2 separate regions of the Homo sapiens genome follow, and region 1 is linked to region 2. The links are contacts of gene promoters, found by promoter capture Hi-C in blood cells and fetal thymus (Javierre and others, 2016). All regions are on one chromosome and are shown on one strand. The core of a region is centred on a gene start or on the middle of the fragment in contact, and the rest is flanking DNA. Distances in the headings are between cores, read along the strand shown.

Region 1 (6,354 bases), core at 2,686-5,185, 1.8 Mb before region 2:
AAATAGAAGATGCGGGTGAGAGAGAAACATTGTGAACCAGAGTAATGGAGGCTGACACAGATGCAGAGCAGTTGGGTCTTTCTGGAATAGCACGTGTCTCTGCCTTTGGCTGCGATATTTCAGCTCTGTTATTGGCAGGCTTTAATAACAAGCAGGGTAACCATCATAACACTTAAAACTGATAGACAAATGTGGTTCATGAGTGTGGAATGAGAGGCATTCTTGGTGGTAAGTAATGATTACGGGGCCGGGCATGGTGGCTCATGTCTGTAATCTCAGCACTGTGGGAGGCTGAGGTGGGTAGATCACCTGAGGTCAAGAGTTTGAGACCAGCCTGGCCAACATAGTGAAACCCATCTCTACTAAACATACAGAAAACAATTAGCTGGGTATGGTGGTGGGTGCCTGTAATCCCAGCTACTCAGGAGGCTGAGGCAGGAGAATCGCTTGGAGGCAGGCGAATCGCTTGAACCCAGGAGGCGGAGGTTGCAATGAGCCGAGATCGTGCCACTGCACTCCAGCCTGGGCAACAGAGTGAGACTCTATCTCAAAATAAACAGATTAATAAAGTAAATAAAAATTAGCTGGTCATGGTGGCACATGTCTGTGGACTCAGCTTCTTGGGAGAATGAGGCAGGAGGATTGCTTGAGCCCAGGAGTTCGAGGCTGCATTGAGCAGTGATCATGACACTGTACCCCAGCCTGGGCAACAGAGCAAGACCTGCCTCTTAAACATTTAAGGTAATGATTAGTACTCATTAGATGGTAAAGCAGCCGTCATTATGCGAGATGCCTCTCTGAAGTTATCCTGGGCTTTACAGCAACCCAGAAGGTACAGGCATTACTGGTCCATTGTACAGATGAGAAAGTCACTGAGGCAGAGGCCAAATACAGTGCTCAGAGTCACACAGCCAAACTTCTGGGGCTGCAGCTTCCATATCCAGCTGTATCCTCTTTCCCTCTTCCTCCTGGTTGACGTGGCTGGGAAGCAGCAGTGTTTTGTGTTCGATAGGCTAAGCTGGCAACCTGATTCCTGCTGGTGGAGCTGCTGCCGCCTCTGCAATACGCTTTTGAAGGAGGACCTGTTGGGCAGTGGGTCCTCATGGCTAGACCCTGTGCAGGGGGCCATGGTCCTTTGGGGGGTATGAGCACTGCCCTGTCTCGTTCTGGCTTTGCTTGTGTCTCTAGGCTAGGCTGCATGACTGGGAAGGATGGGTGCTCTCCACACAGGTCCTGCCGTGGGTGTCTGAGGCTGCAGGGCACCAGCTCAGTCTCTGCAGCAGGCCTCACAGTGTCACTGTTTGGGCCAGGCAGAAAGCTAGAGAGAGACAGGAGAGGCAGGAACAGATCTGGTCAGCTGATCCAGCACCTGCAGAAGGCTGCAGCGGGACCGGCTCTGCGGGGTCAGAGCAGGGGCGGGTGTTGGGTGGGTGTTTTCATGTTGCTAGGGGGAGGTGCCACGTTGCCAGGTGTCCCTTGTAAGCTCTGCAGGGTGCTTTTAGGACATGGGTGCTGACTTGTGCTGTTTGACAGACATAGACTCTGTTCCCACTTGTTCTTATACTTAGAAAGGATTTTTAGCTATCCCTCCCCAGCCCTCATTTATATGGGAAGGCTTGGCTCAGGGAGCGTAAGGACATTGTGGTCATGCTATGTGAAAATGGCAGAGGAATGGCGTTTCGAGTGTTGACAGGAGTGCTTTTCTTTTTGAAGAAAAAAGAGAGATTTCTTTCTTTGTATTTTCTTCTGTTCTTTTACTGTTTGCTGGATCCCTTTTTCCATTCAAACACAATTTATGGCCGGGGCAGTGGCGCACGCCTGTAATCCCAGCACTTTGGGAGGCTGAGGTGGGAAGATGGCTCGAATGCAGGAGTTCAAGACCAGCCTGGGCAACATAGCAAGACCCTTCCTCTACAAATAAAAACATTTAAAAATTGGCCAGGTGCAGTGGCCCATGCCTATAATCCCAGCACTTTGGGAGGCTGAGGCGGGCGGATTACTCTTGAGGTCAGGAGTTCGAGACCAGCCTGGCCAACACAGCGAAACCCCATCTCTACTGACAGTACAAAAATTAGCTGGGCATAGTGGTGGGCACCTGTGGTCCCAGGTACTAGGGGGCTGAGGCAGAGAATTGCTTAAACCTGGGAGGCAGAGGCTACAGTGAGCCAAGATCATACCACTGCATTACAGCCTAGGAGGCAGAGTGAGACTTTGTCTCAAAAAGAAAGAAAGAAAGAGAGGAGAGAGAGAGAGAGAGAAAAGAGAGAGAGAGAGAGAAAAGAGAAAGAGAAAGAAAGAAAGAAAGAAAAAGTGTGTGGTGGTGGCACCTGGCATCTGCCTGTAGTTCCAGCTACTTGGGAGGCTGAGGTGGGAAGATTGTTCGAGCCTAGGAGGTCGAGGCTTTAGTGAATAATGATTATGACCCTGCACTCCAGCCTGGGTGACAGAGCAAGACCGTCTCAAAAAATAAAATAAAAAAATTAAAAAAACCCAATAGAAAAAAACCTGCAACTATTTCTGCCCAGTGTCCATAGTATAATATGATCGCCACACTGCTACTCTTGGTTTATATACTGATGAACAAGAAGCAAAGGTCCTGCCCTCAGAAGCTGTCAGAACTGTGGGGAAGACAAGCAGCAAGCATTAGAAAGGCAAAGCCTATGCCCTGTTTTAAGGCATGTTTCAGGAAAGGGCTTCTCTCAGATGTCAGCGGGGCTGAGGTCTCAGGATGGGGGGTTTGGCCTGTTTTGGTGGCGGGTGGTACCGCTGGCATTGCGCTGCCAGAAGTGAGGGGGAGAGTGAGTTGGAGGATGCTGGAGAGGGTGGCTCGTGTAGATTTTATCCCACGTACAATGGGAAGCCAGTGGAGGACTTGAAGCAGGGGCGATAGGATTTACTCACTTCCTCTTGCGAAGAGCAGGCTCTGAAGCCTGCTTGCCACGCAGAGCACACTCAGCAGTGCGTTCCTTCCGTCCTTCACTGCTCCTTCCCTCCGCCCTCCCTTGTACAGGCAGTGCTGAGGGCTCCCCTGTGTCTCGGGGTAGGGAGTCCTGAGTTGACTTAGCGGCCATACTCTCAGGCTGCTGACAGTCCTGTCACTGCCCTAAGCACGGTGCCCTAACACCCGTGAGTCATAGAGCTGTGCTAGGTGCAGCAGGAGAGACGCGTCCCAGCGGGGAGTTCTGGAGCCAGGATGCGGGGTGGGGCGGTGCGCGGGCCGGTATCAGAGTCCTGGCTTCCAGCCTCAGCTCCACCACTTCCTAACTAGATTTCTCTTTCTTTTTTCCTTAAAGACTCTCTGGTCCCCTGTCCTCATTTGTGAAATGAGGACATTCTCACCGGCGTCTCAGGGGTGTTCTGAGGTCCAAACGTACTAGCTTAGTAAGGCATTAGACTTGAGTGTGGAACCGGGCATCCTTTGTGATTGGAGCCTTCTCAGCTACCTGGAAGCTTTTACGGTGGGGAGCGGCGGGGCTCTAGTTCTTCCGGGTTAGGACTTTGCGCAGGAATGCAGAGGCAGTGGGAGGGAATGGGGGTAAATGTTCCGTGCCGCCTCACGCGGTTATTGATGGTAGGTGGTGGCGTTGCTCCAGGGAGGCCAGTTCCTCTTGAAGTCACATCTGGAGACCCCCTTGGGACCAATTTTTAAGCCCATTTGGTAGCTCCCCAAGGGTTCAAGTGCCAGCTCCAAACCCTAGTCCCGGGGTTTAGGGTTTGAATTCTAGGATGCTGCCTGGTTTCCCATTTCCATCCTGGTTTCTCTCCAGATGGCCTCTGCCAGTCTTCACATATCAAATCCATCCGTAAGTTCATTCCTATTTCTGGGGCAATTCTAGATTTTCCTTCAAAGAGTGCCTGGAAGGCCAGGTATGGAGGCTCACACCTGTAATCCCAGCACTTTGGGAGGCTGAAGCAGGCAGATCAATCACCTGAGGCCAGGAGTTCAAGACCAGCCTGGCCAACATGGTGAAACCCTGTCTCTACTAAAAATACAAAAATTAGCCAGGTGTGGTGGTGCATGCCTGTAATCCCAGCTACTCGAGAGGCTGAGGCAGGAGAATCACTTGAACCCAGGAAGTGGAGGTCGCAGTGAGACAAGATCACACCACTGCACTCCAGCGTGGGCGACAGAGTGAGACTTCATCTCAAAAAAAAAAAAAAAAAAAAAAAAGAAAGAAAAAGAAAAAAGAGCGCCTGGAAAATAGTAATAATACAAATACTTTCTTATTCATTTTACCTACCATAAACCAGGCTTTACCTTCACTAATGCTTAATCTTCATAGCATCCGTGTAAAATAGGAGTGCTAGACTTGTTCTGTAGTTGAAGAAACTGAGAGGCTTTGCTGAAGGTCATACTGCTATTGGGTGGTGGAGGCAGGGTTCACACCCGCTCCCCCTCCTTGCCGTTCCTGGAGACCCACAAGCTTGTGTAATGCCCCACCTTCAGAGAAAAGCACCCAGGTCTCAGGATGTCCCCTTTGCTATAGACTGAATGTTTGTGTGCCCCTAAAATTCCTAGGTTGGAATCCTAACCCCCAGTGTGATGGTGTTAGGAGGTGGGCGTTTGGGAGTTGATTAGGTCATGAGGCTGGAGCCCTCATGAGTGGGATTAGTGCCCTTAAAAAAGGGACCCCAGAGGTTGGGTATCATGGCTTATGCCTGCAATCCCAGCACTTTGGGAGGCTGAGGCAGGAGGATTGCTTGATCCCAGAACTCGAGACCAGCCTGAGTAGCACAGATAGACCCTGTCTCTACACACACACAAAAATTAGACTTGGTGGTGCGTGCCTGTTGTCCCAGCTACTTGGAAGTGAGCCCACTTTGAGGTGAGCCCAGGAGTTTGAGGCTGCGGTGAGCCAAGATCATGCTACTGCACTCCAGCCTGGGCAACAGAGCAAGATCCTTCTCAAAAAAAAAAAAAAAAAAGGGACCCCAGAGACCTTGTTTACCCTTTCTGCCATGTAATGATGACACAGCAAGAAGGCGCCATCAGTGAACCAAGAAGAGGACCCTCACCAGATCCCGAATCTGTCGGTGCCTTGATCTTGGACTTCCAGCTGCCAGAACTGTGAGAAAATCAGTCCCTGTCGTTCACAGTGCACCGGGTCCATGGTGTTTTGTTTTCGCAGCCCTACTCGGCGGAGGTGCTCCTGCAAGAGGCCCTCTTTCCCTGGCCGTCCATCTAGAAGAGCGCAGCACAGGCAATCTCATCCCATCCCCCCAAGTGCAGCACTTCCCTGGCTGCTGACTTCAGGTTTCAGAGCCCCCTGTAACCTCACTCCCCTCTTTAGTTTCTTTCCTGTAGCCCCCACTGGGATACAAGCTCCCTGAGTAGACACACTTTGTCTGCTAGTTAATTGCCATTTTCCTCCTCCCCCAAATCCTGCCTGACAAGTAGTTGTTCAAGAGACATTTAAAGAAGGAAGGAAGGAAGGAAGGAACAAAGGAACTAATGTTTATTTTAGTTCTAACAAGCATGGAGAGTTAAAAGTGCATTCTGCAGGAATGAATTGAAACCGAGTTCCCAGAGGGCGGGCTCCAGTCTGTTATAATCACCATTGTGTCTCTATCTCGGGATGCAGTAAAGGCCTGGTAATATGAGTTGCTCAAGGGAGTGGATTTTCACCTTTTTTCCTCTTGTGTCAGGGAGATGCAGCTGGTTGTAGTGGAATGATGCATTACAAACTATTTGCTCTCAGTGAATGGGAACACTTGGTTTTGATCCTGGCTCTGAGAGTAGTAGGTCGCTTGACCTCTCTGTGCCTCAGTTTCGCAAGCTATGAAGTGGAGGAGGCTTCCCTCAAGGATTCTTTGTGGTGCTGACCATCTGTTCTGGGAAAGGAGCCAGAATATCCACATTCTCATTTGCGGTGATTAAAGAACCACTCTGCTGAAGTTTCTCATGACTTGCCTGACCTCGTTAGTTTCTTTGATACCAAAGACAGGTGTCTTCCTTTCCCCCTTGCCTACTGTCTCCTTTACACATGTGGTGACATTCAGGTGAATTTGAATGGCTTTTGGCTAGGCAAGCCAGTATCAGTAAACACACTGGCTTGGACATTTGGCCCATAACTTTTTATACCCGAGGCCAGGTGTTGGCCGATGTGGGAAGAGGGCTGGAAAGAGGCAGAATGGTATTTGTGTGAGTGCCAGACCCCTGTGGACTGTTTTGCTGAGATGCTGTCTTATGGAGTTTGTAGAGGTGAATCAACAACTGTCTTTGTGAAAGGCAAATGTCACCTTCAGGTTTTAATTCTGAGTGGCCAGCAGCCCTTACATTGCCACTGTATATCATCAGAGCCACTAGAATATTAGATATGTAAATCCTTTCTGCACTTTACACATCCTTTAGTT
Region 2 (6,718 bases), core at 854-3,353:
TTGATCAGCTTGGGACGTCATCTGATCAAACGGACTTAACACAAATTCATTATCTTCCAGTTCTGGGGGTCGGAAGTCCAAAATGGGTGGATAGAGCTGCAGTCCTCCCGGGAGCCCTAGGGGAGAATCCATTTCCTTGCCTTTTTCAGCTTGTAAGGGCTGCATTCCTTGGTTCAGTGCCCGTTCCACATCACTCTGAACTCGGCCTCCTGTCACATCTCTGAATCTGACCCTCCTACCTCTCTCTTTCTCTTATAAGCACATTTGTGATACATTGAGCCCACCTGGATAATCCATATAATCCCCCCATCTCAAGAACCTTAACATACTCACATCTGCAAACCCCCCTTTGCCACATAAAACAACCTACAGGCTCCAGGGATTAGGATATGAACATCTTTGGGAAGCCGATATTCTGCCTACCACCGCTTGGGAGTCAGGTTTGAATTTCAGCTTTGTCATTTCAATCTTCATTTCCTAAATATGTGTTGAGTACCCCCATATCACGTCCTGAAATAGATCTAAGAAATACACTAACTAGCTCCCGTGGCCTTGCCCAAGTTATATAACCTCCCTGCACCTCCATTTTTCTCACTGGCAGAACTGACGAGATTAATATCTGCCTCAGAGGAAACGCTGTATGTAAAGTGTCTGCCGGCAACCCTTTCCACTTAAACAGCATTCAGGAATTATATGCTATTTTCATCTTGACAAAATGTAAGCAAAATACCAGATTAAGCAGTAAAGAGGTAGAGGAACAGATCCTCTTGGAAACGGCTAGTGTGAATGTGAATTGGTATAGGCTTTCTAGAGGGCAATGTGGCAATGTGAATGGAATGAAAAGCCTTACAAATTTTTTTCTCTTTATCCCAGTGATTATTCATTTCTAGACGTGTATCTGAAGGCCACGGCTGAATTTACATACAAAGATGTTTAGTGAAATATTATTTATATTACTGGAAGGGAAAAAGCAGAAACAGACTAAATGTCCTCTAATAAGCAATTAGGTAAGTACACCCACATAATGGAAATCTCATCAGCCATATAAAAGGACTTTGTAAAAGAATATGAAACATCATGTTCAGAGGTTTGCCAAATGTTAATGACAAAGCTGGGGATTTAAATCAGGGATATTAATTATCTCGTGTCGGTAAAAGAACTCCGTGTGATGAGAGAATGTGTATATAGATAGAAAAAAAAGGACTAAATAAAATAGATTTCGTGATGTTAACAGTGGTTATTTCCAAGTAATGGAAACAAGTGATTTTCATTTTTGTTTACTTGTATTTTCTATTTTCTAATAACAAAGGTGGGGGGTTTCTATACAAAACAATTCCTCTACTAGTTCAACTATCAGGCATTTCTAGGTATAGAACAAACACTGCGGGAGGTGTCCCTCTAGTGGAAGGAGGGATTTTTAAAAATAGTTTATTGTATTGAAGTCTTTGGGAGGCAAACAGAGGTCTGAAGTCAGTAAATGATTCTGCTTATTCCACAGCCACTGCACTCCAGCCTGGGCAACATATCAACATCCTGTCTCGGGAAAGAAAAAAAAAATTAAAAGAAGGATGGGGAGTAATCGCAAAAGGAAGGGCCAAAAACCACCCTAGGAAACAGGTGCTACTAACTCTTGGCGCATTTGGAATATTGACCAGTAACTTTTTCAACTGTCGATGTCGGGGGATTAAGCTCCTTAGGCTTACTTCCCCTTCCCTTGCTTTTTGGCAGCTTGAGGCTAGGGTGCCAGGGGATGTGGAAACTCAAAAGAGACGTGAATGGAGCCTGATATCTGCAAGCTACACCGACAGGGGGCGCCAGCCCCTACAGGTGACTCCATGAATCTTCGGCTCCACTCGGCTCTTCTTCGGCTGAGTTCGGCCAACGCTTGCCTTCTCAGGCTCGGCTCTCTTCGGCTTTCTGAGAGCGCGCCTGTCGTGGCCTCGGCTCCTCTTCGGCTGCGTTCGGCCCACGATCATCTCAGTCTCAGCTCTCCTCGGCTACGTTCGGCTGGCTGCCGTCCTCTCGGACTCGGCTCTCTTCGGTTGAGTTCGGCCTACTCTCCACTAGGAGTCGGCTTCCTTCGGCTGCGTTCGGCTGCGACCCGGAAGAGCTTCCATGGAGTCAGGGCAGCCGGCTCGACGGATTGCCATGGCGCCGCTGCTGGAGTACGAGCGACAGCTGGTGCTGGAACTGCTCGACACTGACGGGCTAGTAGTGTGCGCCCGCGGGCTCGGCGCGGACCGGCTCCTCTACCACTTTCTCCAGCTGCACTGCCACCCAGCCTGCCTGGTGCTGGTGCTCAACACGCAGCCGGCCGAGGAGGTGCGGCCGCGCTGGCGCGGGAGTGAGGGGACTCCGAGAGTGTTGAGGGCCTCCTGAGCGGATGCGAGGCCTCTGACAGGGATGGAGGGGCTCTGAGGGGGATTCAGGCCCCTGACACTACGCGATGACACAGAGAAGGATGGCAGGGGTCCCCAGGGGGATGCAGGTCCCTCACACTGCGGGAACACAGACGTATGTAAGGGGTCGCTAGGAGGATACCGGTCGCTCACACCGTGCGGGGACACTGATAAGAATTGGAGGGGCCCCGAGAAGGCTGCAGGTCCCTGGCAGGAGTTGAAGAACACTAAGAGGAATGCCAGTCCCTGACACTGTGCGGGGACTCTGAGAGGGAAGGGAGGGGTCCCAAGAAGGATGCAAGTCTTTGACCAGAGTTCAAGAACACTAAGAGAAATGGGAGGGGTCCCCAGGGGATGCGGGTCCCTGACACTGTGCAGGCACAGTGAGAATGATGGAAGGGGTCCCGAGAAGGATGCAATTCCCTGACAACACTAAGAGGGATGGGAGGGGTCCCCAGAAGGATGCAGGTCCCTGACATGGGTGCAAGGGCACTGAAAGGTGAAGGGGCTCTGAGTGGTAGGAGAGGATCGGAGGTCGCTGCAGGGGAGGGGGAGATGTCGGAAGGAGGATCTGGATAGGAATAACGGGAGAGTCCTGAAGTTGGCCATTAAGGGAGTTTCTGGGGGCAGAAGGAAGGTCCCTGAAAGGGAACAGTGATGAGGATGGAAGATCTCTGAGGGTGATGGGGAGACATGAAAGGAGATGCTGAGGCGCTGGAAAAACCCCAATAGGGAAAAGGAGGGACCAGGAAATAGGACATTCACCAAGGCTGTGTTAAGAGGGCCATAGGGTCAGAAAGGGATTGGAGCTTGACGCTGAGGATGTTGGCAAAGGTTAACTACAGTTAAGGACAATGGAGAACACTGAGAAAGATGGAATGGGGCTACACATGGGTCTGAGGGGTGTTGAGAGGGGACACAGCTTGGTCGGACAAGTCTGATGATCCCCTAGATATATCAGGTGGCCGGGAGAAAAATGTCAGCTGAGAAGAGTGACCACAGTCTCTTTGAGGGCAGGGATCCTGTTTGATTCATCTAGGTATCCCCAGTGCTTGGCATAGGGCCTAAGGCAACACACAGGGCCTAGTAAAGATGGTTTTAAACTGGGGATATAAATAAACCAAGCCAAGGGACCCAGTGACATGAAGTCCCTCTAGGATAGATTAGCACAGAACTGATAGTCTAAAACATTGTCTGGGGAAAGGATTCCCTTGTTATCATCTCATAGAATGTGCTTGGCTACAAACCTGGCTTTGGTGGGAAGTATTTTCTAGGTAGCAGAAATCTTTTAATCCAGGCTTTTAAAAGTTTGAGGTTTTGTATGTGTGTGCATATGTTATTGTAGTTGAGTGCTGATAATGACTGAAGTGCAATTATTCCTTAGTGTAAACCCCAAAACAAGAAAACCTCATTAAATGTAGACTGGTTGGCTGAAGTTACTATAAAGAAGTAACTTAGTGTGTATATTCATTATTAAGTTCATTATCTCAGAGAAAGACAGCACATTATTTTAAATATCTGTGACCTATTAAAAACTGCCCTGTATTAAATAGCCTACTAATCAAGTTTGATTTGATTTAGGAGTATTTTATCAATCAGCTGAAGATAGAAGGAGTTGAACACCTCCCTCGCCGTGTAACAAATGAAATCACAAGCAACAGTCGCTATGAAGTTTACACACAAGGTGGTGTTATATTTGCGACAAGTAGGATACTTGTGGTTGACTTCTTGACTGATAGAATACCTTCAGATTTAATTACTGGTAAGAATTTGAAATCTTATTATTAGTATGTAAATTTGTACTTTTTTTTTTTTAAGTACAATTTCCATTTTATTTTTCTCCAGAGAATAGTCTGTCTTCAGTCTTGAAGGACTCAGCTCCCTACATCACCTTTGGTAGGGGTCGTGGGGCAGCACCCACAGGTCTAAATCTGGGTGGGGGTGTTCGGTCCTTGCAGGCTTCACAAGATCGATTCCTGACTACTTTGTTGTGAATTGCACAACTCACACAGTAATTTAGCTTCACATACATCTTGGGAAGCACATAGGCGTCGAAGATGCTCGCTTCAGAAATGTCCCTGACTGCTGTGGCCTCCACTGTGTTTTGAATGACGAATTTCTTAATGGCTTTATCCTTGGGCACACATCAGGCACAGTTCGTGCAGCAAATAGGCTGCACATGGCCGCAGCCCTTTTTGGCATGACCGTTGTCCTTTCTTTTCTTTGTCATCTTGGAGGCACGGACCGGAGAGGGTATTTTCTACATTTTTATTTTTGTCTGTCTCCTCTGCTGAACGCTCTACTAGAACCTTCTAGTGGGCACTACTGGATCCTTTTGTTCAACATTATGCTTCCAACTTTCAGCATGATACCTGACACATTGTAGATGCTCAGTAAATATCTGTGACCTGAATAAGTAACTAAATGTTAGATTAACTTTTCATTGTTTTCTAAGCTCTTATTCAGTAAATACTTGCAATTCGTTAGCATTTGCTTTTAGAACTTAATCAGATTTGAAATGTTTATAAATAATCTTTGTATATTTCCTAAAATATTTAGTTTTCCTCCTTAAGATTTTTTTGGCATTATTTGAAATTAAATCAAGTAGTTGCTTGCTTATTTTGAGGAAAAATTATTTTAGCTAGAATTAAATAGAAAAGAAATTCATTTTCATTATCCTTTCAAAACCTTTTCTGATGTCCCCAAAGCTAATGTAGGGGCTGTGCCTCTGTGCCCTCATATTACCCTGTATTTCTCCCCAGTCATAGTGCTCACAACACTACATTATATTTATGTGTTTGTCTATCTCACTCACAAGATAAGCTGAAGCACAAGGAACAAGTTGTTCATCCCAGGCTAAATAACTGGTACATGGTAGGCACTAAAGACGTATTTGTTGGGTGAATGATGGATGGATATAGTACTGTGATCGTTAGTGAACTTCTGGAGGCAGAGAGACTCTGAAATTCATAATCTTATTCCCACTGTATCTGTCATGTTGCCCTGAACCTAGATGACCCTCAAGAAAAATTTGATAAATAAATGTGTCAATGAATGCTTCAATGGTAAACCGACTGAAGAAGTTTGGTTACTCTTTTATAACTTTTATAATTGTTATAAACAGTATCATAGGCTCACCTGGTTTTGAATGCTAACACCCTGCTTACAAAGCAAACTCCTTAATTTTCATTAACCCCAGTTTTCTCATTAAGAAAACAGTGCTTCCTGAAGTTATTATAAGGATTAAGTTAATAAAATAATTTCTTAGTATAGTGCCTGGTACACAACAAACTCTTAGTAATTCATACCAAATAAAATTGGCCTTTTGTAACCAGAAATCTTGATACACCAGTCTTTTACTGTTTGCTGCTTTCTTATAAGCTTGGTTTTACTTTATTTTTTAAATTGATTTAAAAAAATTTTTTTGTTGTGTTTAAAACTACCACTAGGTGTCAGTAATATCCTGTGACTTTCAGTTACAGTGCAACCTAATTAGGCAGAGAGCAATGTGAATTTATGCAACGTTGAAGTCTGGCTTATCTGTAGCTCCTAATGAAAAATGCCAAATTCCCTCCTCCTTTCTGATCAAAGCCCACCGAATAATGAAGCTGGAGCTGTTACTGATGCTTGGCTGAGTGGAATGTAAATGAATGCCAAAAATGAATTCTTTTGAATTCTTTCATCCCCTGGGATCATCCCCCAGGACTGACCAAAGAGCAGTGCGTGAAGTGCAGGTAACCCTCTGGAAAGGCTGAATCCCCCAGCCCCAACTTCTTCACCTGTCACCACCCATTATTACCACCACACCCCACCCTGGGAATCCCTGCTAACCAGAACTCCTAACACGTGGGAGAACTATATAAATATCTGGTGAGGTTGTACCTTGAAAAGAACAGGACAGGAGGATGCTTTCATTGCCAAAACTGACCCTGACATCTCCAGACAGAACTAAGAACACACTTTCTGGGAAATATATATGTATTTTTCAGTTACACTTTTGATTTGTGTACCCAGTGCTGTGCCTCCACTTTATATTCATTCAACAAATATTTAACTCACTAAGGGTCCCTTGTTTGGCAGGAAGGGTGCTGAAGATAGACAGATGAATGGGACAGTATGGTGAACTCGTGAGTTAGACTGCTTCTGGGTTTGAGTTATCTTCATCTTGCACCAGCTGTGTATTTTTAGGCAAGTTTCTTAATTTCTCTATGCCTCAGCTTACTCACCCGTACATTGGTGATAAAGATAGTACCTTCCTCCTAGGATTGTCAGGGTGAAATGAAATGCTTATATGTAAAATACTTGGTAGCATGGCACAT

What was found. The method cuts DNA at HindIII sites, captures the fragments that hold promoters and counts their contacts. A CHiCAGO score of 5 or more calls a contact.
Region 1: a fragment that was not itself captured here is called in contact with the fragment with the promoter of ERCC4 in region 2 in 2 of 17 cell types (total CD8 T cells and naive CD8 T cells); the score reaches 5.9 in total CD8 T cells.

What each region holds. Positions count from the first base shown.
Region 1 is chr16:12,086,868-12,093,221 of GRCh38, forward strand. All of the region lies in intron 11 of SNX29 (sorting nexin 29), which reads left to right. LOC642696 (a long non-coding RNA gene) reads right to left here and starts at 3,073. Exons shown (of 2, transcript XR_109256.5): 1 at 2,902-3,073; 2 at 844-1,318. RefSeq lists an enhancer at 1,246-1,315 and a silencer at 2,992-3,041. The HindIII fragment of the contact is 974 bases long and covers 3,449-4,422 here.
Region 2 is chr16:13,918,051-13,924,768 of GRCh38, forward strand. ERCC4 (ERCC excision repair 4, endonuclease catalytic subunit) reads left to right here and starts at 2,104. Exons shown (of 11, transcript NM_005236.3): 1 at 2,104-2,322; 2 at 3,981-4,161. The coding sequence starts at 2,116. The region is part of intron 1 of LOC105371093 (a long non-coding RNA gene); the gene reads right to left. It overlaps LOC124903647 (a long non-coding RNA gene), which reads right to left and starts at 2,028. Exons shown (of 2, transcript XR_007065001.1): 1 at 1,629-2,028; 2 at 1,415-1,533. It also overlaps the pseudogene RPS26P52. RefSeq lists enhancers at 1,688-1,737, 1,948-2,307, 2,348-2,557. The HindIII fragment of the contact is 6,939 bases long and covers 1-5,778 here.